Regions from separate parts of the Homo sapiens genome. Here region 2 is linked to region 1. Evidence: promoter capture Hi-C in human tissues and cell types (Jung and others, 2019). All regions are on one chromosome and are shown on one strand. Each heading gives the region's core, a stretch centred on a gene start or on the middle of the fragment in contact. The rest is flanking DNA. Distances are from core to core; before and after follow the strand shown. Region 1 holds the start of CCDC60 (coiled-coil domain containing 60). Region 2 overlaps LINC00934 (long intergenic non-protein coding RNA 934).

Region 1 (4,295 bases), core at 1,796-4,295:
TAGTTGGCCCCCCAAAGCACTAAATCGTTCTAGAAAATACTTCTGTTCATACGATTAAAAAAAACAACAGCTAGCATTTATTGAGCATGTATTATGTGCCAACTGTACTAAATATTTTATGTACATGATACCATTTTCACGAATGTACTATTATCTTCACTCTGTAATGAGAAAACCAAAGCTTTGAGCAGATAAGTTACTTAGTTAAAGTCACACAGCTGGTAAATGGCTGAGTTGGGATTTAGACACCAGCTCAACTAGTACTCCATATAGTCTCTCAATATCGGTTTGGAAAGAGCCTTAAATATCATGTAGTCTGACACCCCCAAGTGATCAAAAATCCAAGAAGCCATATGGCATTTAGTTGAACACCTCTAGTGCTGGGTAGTTTGTTCCCTCTCTAAAGAATATACCCCTTCCTAGACAGAGAAGGGAAATTCGTTATTTTGCTTCATCATCCTGGTAGCAGGTATAAAATTGGCATAACCATTCACTACACATGAGTTTTATACACGTGAAAAATTGAGGCTTGGAGAAGTGAACTTGACCCAGGTCTTATTGGTAACAAATGGCAGAGCCAGGAATTGAACGCATGTCTTTTCAGTTCTAGAGCCCTTCCTATTTCCAGTTCTTACATGGCTCTGACAGGTGAGTATTATAAAAACAACAAAGGAAATAAGGGCTAATATTTATTGAGCACTTCCTCCGTGCTAGGCATTGTGCTTTGCATGAGTTATCCCATTTGGTTTTCATCACAGTCCTATGAGAATTATCATTGAAGCTGCTCAGTGGCTAATTCAGTTGGATTCCAGAGGTCACACCTTTTAAAATTATGTTCTGCTGTGTACACATTTCTTCCTATTGAGCCCAAACCTCCTCCTATTCTTTGAGCTAATACAGAACTAGTTGAGTTCCTCTTTGCCAAGCCTGTTCTACAAAATCATATGAAGACAGCTTTTGTCTGTTCTGCTCAGGGCTGAACATTTCCCATCCTGCCTTGTTTTCTCATCCCCTCATCCCCTCATCCCCAGCCCTATCTCCCAAACATGATTCCCTTTATCTGCTTCATTCTGAAAGTGTCTGCCGATTGCTTAATGCTGCCCACAAAAGAAGCCGGAGAACCAAAACTTCCTGTGAAAGGGAAGGTCAGGGTCAGTCTTTAGGCAATGGTGAGAAAATAATGACTTTCAGGCACCAGCATCTAGAGTTACTTGGCTAGGTATTTTGCATTCTGTAGAGTGTCATCTTGCAGTAGATGCCTTCTAAAGAGAAGATGAGCTGGGCGCCATGGCTCACACCTGTAATCCCAGCAGATAACTTGAGTTCAGGAGTTTGAGACCAGCCTGGCCAACATGGTGAAACCCCGTCTCTACTAAAAATACAAAAATTAGCCTGGCCTGCCTGGTGGCATGCCCCTGTAATCCCAGCTACTCAGAAGGCTGATGCAGGAGAATCGCTTGAACCCGGGAGGCGGAGGTTGCAGTGAGCCGAGATCACGCCACTGCACTCCAGCCTGGGCAACACAGCAAGACTCTGCCTCAAAAAAAAAGAAAAAGAAAAAGAAAGAAAGAAAGAGAGAAGATGCAGCCATAATGATATCATAATCCCCAGCAGCTCAAGGTTGTTGGATAAAACAGGAATCAGATCGATCCAGTGTGAAACAATGCCAAGGATAAGGCATTCAAATCCAAACATACGAAATAAATCTGCTGCAGGCTGGGAACCTACCCCGTAGGGTTATTGGAAGGATTAAATGAATTAATGTATGCGAAGTGCTTAGTACAGTACCTAGCACAGAGCAAGTGATCAATAAATATCAGTTAGTACTAACATCTGCTGTGAAATGAACCCAGCACAGTGAGAATGCCTGATTCTTCCTCGGGAAGTGATGTCAGGGAATAATAATAGTACCACTTAGCTAGGACTCCCCATGGGCTCAGCCTTCATATGCATCATCCACTTCAATTCTTAACAACCTGTGGCAAAGATAGTATCCCCATTTTAAAGACATAGAAGCCAAACTCAGCAAAGTTAGGCATCTAAGTGGTTAAAAGCTTGCTCTTTAGACTCAAACAGTTCTGGCTTTGAATTTCAGCTGCAGCACATGCGTGACTTTAAACTTGTCATTTAATGTCTCTGTGCTTCAGTTGCTTAGGCTGTACAATGGGGTAATAAAACACCTTCTTTAAAGAGGTGCTGTATGGATTGAGTCAGTATGTGACACTTAGAACAGTGTCTAGCACATCCTAAGCACTCAATAAATGTCATATGCATACATGCCCACACACACAAATACGTATATACACACATATATACATGTCTACATATGTATATTCATATATGTGTATATGTATGTGTGTGCATATATCTATATCTATATACAGCTGTCCCTTTTCTTTGCTCCCACAATACCCTATGATACTTTCCCAGCACATCATAAATCATCCTGCCTTATAACAATGTTTCTTATCTTTTGCTCCCCATCCCAAACATACACACTATAGATCGTGAAGTCCTGAAGGTCTCATTTTTTTTAATTTCATTTTTACTTTATTATATTTTATTTTAGCAGAGTCAATAAATCTTTGCTAAATAAATGGAATAACAATATTTCATTTTATGAAATGAAGGGCTTTGAAGGATGAGCAGGAGTTTGTCAGGTGGAAAAACGGGAGAAATAGGCATCTCAGGTTAAGAATTGCAGGACTACAGGCCACCCACCCCAAGGCACAAAAAATTACTAGTGGGTTAGCAGCAGTACAGAGCAGAGTTTGAAAAGAAGGATTCGCTTGTAGTCAGGCAGAGAGAAAGGGTATGGTCCTCAGGCCTAAAAACAGAAACCAATTTGTTTAGAGAATGCAGCTCCGGTGGCAGCCGGCTGCTCTGAGCCGGCGTCCCAGCAACCTGGGAGAGTTCACGACCCCCATGACCCCGCCCCCACGAATTCCAGCCAATGAGGAAGCCCTCCTCGGCGTCCCGTTGCCAAGCAACTGGGTTCCCCCCACCCCCACCCGGCCCAAGGGTTAGCAGTTGCCTACTTTCCCCGCAGTGCGATAAACCCCTCGTTGGGGCCGCCTTAGTTCTCGGCCGCTCTCGGAGGATGGCGATCTGGGAGCCCCTCCATGGGACCCCTCTCACACTTTGTCACTGGAATTTTATTTATTTTTTAGTTCATATTTTATTTTGCTTATAGAAGAGAAAGATATCCCTTCCGAAGAGGAGGAAGCTTACAGAAGTTTATAACCTTTCAAAAAGTAAATAAGTCCAGGCTTGCCTGATTCTGCCCTACCCGGACTTCCTTATCCCGTCTGTGGGAGACCCAGGTGCTTTCTCATTACTCTTCAGAAGGAAACCGCTTTGGAGTTCGTGTAATTGGGACTTGGGGATCAGGGAGAAGTTGCCGAAACTTCTCATACCAGTAACTACTGAAGTAGAAGATTCTGGAAAAATCCTTGTCTTGGGGGCACAGGCTAAAACCTGAAGGATTTTTAAGATGACCAAGGTTCCAGCCACCAAGAAGCTTCAGAGTTCCCCCAACTCGGGGGCTGTCCGGCCCTTTTATGCCTCGGAGAACCTAAGGCAGGTAAGTCTCCCCTCTGCTGAAACCAATCATGTTTTCGAGAACAAGTGAAATAGGAATTAGCTGGGTCAAATGGTATTTCTAGTTCTAGATCCCTGAGGAATCGCCACACTGACTTCCACAATGGTTGAACTAGTTTACAGTCCCACCAACAGTGTAAAAGTGTTCCTATTTCTCCACATCCTCTCCAGCACCTGTTGTTTCCTGACTTTTTAATGATTGCCATTCTAACTGGTGTGAGATGGTATCTCATTGTGGTTTTGATTTGCATTTCTCTGATGGCCAGTGATGATGAGCATTTTTTCATGTGTTTTTTGGCTGCATAAATGTCTTCTTTTGAGAAGTGTCTGTTCATGTCCTTTGCCCACTTTTTGATGGGGTTGTTTGTTTTTTTCTTGTAAATTTGTTTAAGTTCATTGTAGATTCTGGATATTAGCTTTTTGTCAGATAAGTATGTTGCGAAAATTTTCTCCCATTTTGTAGGTTGCCTGTTCACTCTGATGGTACTTTCTTTTGCTGTACAGAAGCTCTTTAGTTTAATTAGATCCCTTTTGTCAATTTTGTCTTTTGTTGCCATTGCTTTTGGTGTTTTAGACGTGAAGTCCTTGCCCATGCCTATGTCCTGAATGGTATTGCCTAGGTTTTCTTCTAGGGTTTTTATGGTTTTCATGTCCTTTGTAGGGACATGGATGAAATTGGAAATCATCATTCTCAG
Region 2 (4,295 bases), core at 1,015-3,514, 46 kb before region 1:
TCAAGCACTTATAAAAGTAGGAGATAGGATAACAAAAAAATAATAAAATAAACATGATCATTCTTGTTTCACTAATACCCCAACCCTTTACCCCCAAACCACTAGTTATTGAAAAGCAAATCTCAGACACCACCTTACTTCATCTTTAGTAATTCAGTGTAAATATCCACATATCTTATGTACCATTACTCAATTAAGAATACCTTAATTTCATCTACTATTCAGTTACTGTTCAAATTTCTCCAATTATTTCAGAAATGTCTTTTAAAAAAAAACAGTTGGTTTGTCTGAAAGAAGCTTTAACTTTAAATGAAACTTGGAGTTTTAACCATTACTTAAGAGCAGGCATTTTAATTACTGACACAGAACTATTCTGTGAGAAAAATGACTTCAGGACATTTTATTATCCAGGAATCACCAGCAAAGTGATGGGGGATGCTGAAAATTTTACCCACGGGCAGAGGAAGCTTCAACTCATCAAAGCCTTGCCAATGGACAGTGGAGAAAACAGTGAGGGTGCCTTCTCACACTCAACAGAGTCCCGCTTATTCACCAGGTGAGTGACACACAGGCTATCTCTAAGCCTCACTACAGTCCTTTGGTTGGGTGTTATAATCCTCATTTTAACAGATGAAAAACTTAAACATAGGCGAATTAACTCGCCTAAAGTCATACAGCTATTATTAGGTAGAACCTGTATTCCAACTCAGGTCTGTCTGACCTCTCCAAGGGGCTCTGGAAGTCACCTACCAAGTAACACTGTCATAGTCTTAGGACATTAAGACACTGTGAAAGCCTTTTTTACAGTTGTGACAGAAGTTAGCAAGAACCAAACCACATCTTCTATTCATTTTTGTTTCCTGGGACTTGACACAGAACTGGGTACACAATAGGTGCCTAATAAATATAAAGCCTTGAAGCCACCATAGCACAGAACCTTATTTAAAGAAACGTCCATTATGGCAGCCAGCCAGTCAGTCTGAAAAACAATTTCCGCCCGCTGCCCCATCTACCATCAGCTTTATCTCAACTTGTTTTCTTGGCAATAGTGGCAGGGGTAGAATCAGCTGCAGAGGTTGGGAGCAAGACAGATTCAGGCCCACATTACAGGAACTCACCTGAGAATATTCAATTTCACTGAAACTAGAAACTAGATATTGAGAAGAGTCTGGTGGAGAAGTTCGCAGCATTGTTACTTTTGATAGGACAGCTTTGGCCAATAAACTGGATTCTTTCATTCCATGAATCCCTCTCAAAAGCCATTATCTGCGTCTGAAACTGTCCATACTCCCCACCCGCGTCTCTTTGCCTGACAAACTCCTAATCCTTCAGAGTTCAACAGAAATCTCATTTGCTCAGCGAAGGCTTCTCTGCCTTCCTGGATGAAGTTCCATCCTTCTCATATGTGTACCTATCATGTATTCAGTCCTCTTTCACTTGGAACGACATGCCAGATAAGGAAAAAATTGCATCTATCTTGTACCTGGAACATAGTAGGCATTCAATAAATATTTTTTGACTGATTTTTTTTTTTAAGCAAGTTTAAAACTGCAATTACAGCAGGGCACGGTGGCTCATGCCTGTAATCCCAGCACTTTGGGAGGCTGAGGTGGGTGGATCACGAGACCAGGAGTTCAAGACCAGCCTGACCAACATGGTGAAACCCCATCTCTACTAAAAATATAAAAATTAGCTGGCCATGGTGGTGCGCGCCTGTAATCCCAGCTACTCAGGAGGCTGAGGTAGGAGAATCGCTTGAACTCGGGAGGTGGAGGATGCAGTGAGCAGACATCACGCCACTGCACTCCAGCCTGGACAACAGAGTGAGACTCCATCTAAAAAAATAAAAAAAAGAAAAAAAAGAAAAAAAATACCACAAAACTGCAATTACTGAAGTCTCTTAAAAAATATCACAGAGCACAGAGGCATTCCATTCACACAACAGAGCAAAGCTTAAAATGCACTTCCTTCTTCTCATTGTGTTCCCCACAAAACGCTCCACTACATTCTTCTCTTCTCTTTTATGAACTCCCTAAAATCTTCAAACCTAGCCATGCCCCCTGGCTTGTGTTCCCTAGTCTTCTCTTCCCATGCAGCAATTTCTCCTATGAATCTACTGAGCCTTTCTATCTCTTTTGAGTTTTCACATTTATCCATTATCCAGATTCTAGAAAGCAAAGAAAGCCTTCAAACTGACCCAATAATCTTCCATCCTTGGAAAGTGAGACAGGACCATAAACTCCTAAAGTAATGGATTTATGCCCATTTTTGTTCCCTGCTGTGTTCTCAGTCTTTAACTGATGCTTGATCAAGATTTACTAGTTGAACAATATAGTTCTCTTAAGCTTATCATATATTTTTATTGTTGATGATGAATAAGTAACAAGAGGTGTTGCCAGAGTGAAAGAAGGGAAGGAAAAGTTTAATAAGGAATCATTTCTCTATTTGGAGGTCTAAGATGGGAAGTCTGCCTGAAGAACCATACCAAGTGGAACACAGCCCCTGGTCATTCCCAGACTAGACGAGCTGCCATGTGCTGCTGAATCAGCAGGAAACAGCACGGGGGGCAAGAGCGAGGTACAGCTCGGCAGCGTGGCAGCAATTTGGCTGACAATTTCCTTCTATGTTTCAGCATAATTGAATTAGCATCCATGGAGACTGTCTCCCAGACATCGGCAAATGCAATACTGTGGAGCAGGCGCTGCAATTCATCTGGCATTATGAGGCATTGAATTGCCATCCAATCCCGCACCTCTCCTTGTTGCTTTGTGTGTGCTCGTTAGAGAAAATTACGTGGATGCGACAAGCCTGGGAACAATTAAAATCTTCCCACTTAGCCAATTCCCAGCAGTGGTGTCCAAGTTCTTCTGATAGGCACTCGGCTTGCTCAGCTAGTATGCCCAACTTCCTGGACGTGCTTTCAAATTTTAAGTAATGGATAAAAGTTCATTTTGCTCCAGCTGAGAATAGGAATTGTTAGCACATAGAGGGACAGCCATGATATGAACCAACCAGAACATCATCCATAGTGGATAGTATCAAGACCAGGAGTCCTGGAACTCAGTCCAACTAGGAAGAGTATTTCTCAAGACAAGTCTAGGGCAATGGAGCTGGATGGTGAGTCAAAGTCAAGGGCCAGGGAGACAGCATCCAGCGTTGCATCCAGAGGGCTAACAGAAACTAGATGTTGGGGGTATTAAAGGCAGGATGCAGCAGACAGTGAGGAATAGCATTGAGTAAATGATTCAGAACCAAGCTTCTGAACATCAAGAAAGTGCTAGATTAAACAGAGGCTATGGGTGGCCAATTAAAGAATTGTATTCTGCTGGCTGGAGGGAATGGCTTACAACTGCTAGGGAGCAGAATGGTGTGAGGAAAAGAGCATATTTTCAGAGTCATATGGATCTTCTGCTTCCTCATTGGAGAAAAAAAGAAACCCATCTTGCAAAGTTAGGAAAGGATTAGAAATGCGCTAGGAATAAAGGTATTATCTGAATAACAGGGCTTTGTCTTGGTTTGAGTTCCACCAGAAAGGGATTGTATTCATCCATTCTCACACTGCTATGAAGAAATACCCAAGACTGGGTAATTTATAAAGGAAAGAGATTTAATTGACTCACAGTCCCTCATGGCTGGAAAGGCCTCAGGGAACTTACAATCATGGCAGAAGGTGAAACAGGCATCTCTTACATGGTGGCAGGTAAGAGAGGTGAGTGTCGTGCAAAGGGGGAAGCCCCTTATAAAACCATCAGATCTTGTGACAACTCACTCACTGTCATGAGAACAGTATGAGGGTAACCACCCCATGACGCAATTACTTCCCACCAGTTCCCTCCCATGACACGTGGGGATTATGGGAACTACAATTCAAGATGAGATTTGGGTGGGGACACAGCCAGACCATATCAGGGATCCTGAGATCAGGATTTGAGTATGAGTACTTTATTTCGGAGGAGAGTGGGATGTATTAGTCTGTTTTCACACTGCTGATAAAGACATACCTGAGACTAGGAAGAAAAATAGGTTTAATGGACTCATAGTTCCACGTGGCTGGGGAGGCCTCACAATCATGGAAGGCAAAAGGCACTTCTTACATGGTGGCAAAAAGAGAAAATGAGGCAGAACCAAAAGCGGAAACCCCTTATAAAACCATCAGATCTCATGAGATTTATTCCCAAACATGAGAACAGTATGGGGGAAATTGTCCCCGTGATTCAATGCTCTCCCACCGGGTCCCTCCCACAACACATGGGAGTTACGAGAGTACACTTCAAGATGAGATCTGGGTGGGGACA

Evidence for each region. Contacts are between HindIII fragments. The study calls those that stand out against the background at their distance.
Region 2: a fragment that was not itself captured here is called in contact with the fragment with the promoter of CCDC60 in region 1 in 2 of the 25 tissues and cell types used here (dorsolateral prefrontal cortex and spleen).

The regions. Positions count from the first base shown.
Region 1 is chr12:119,331,684-119,335,978 of GRCh38, forward strand. CCDC60 (coiled-coil domain containing 60) reads left to right here and starts at 3,046. Exons shown (of 14, transcript NM_178499.5): 1 at 3,046-3,583. The coding sequence starts at 3,494. The HindIII fragment of the contact is 4,991 bases long and covers 1,118-4,295 here.
Region 2 is chr12:119,286,132-119,290,426 of GRCh38, forward strand. All of the region lies in intron 2 of LINC00934 (long intergenic non-protein coding RNA 934), which reads right to left. Among named protein-coding and RNA genes, the nearest start is that of LINC00934, 15 kb to the right of the region's middle. The HindIII fragment of the contact is 3,764 bases long and covers 383-4,146 here.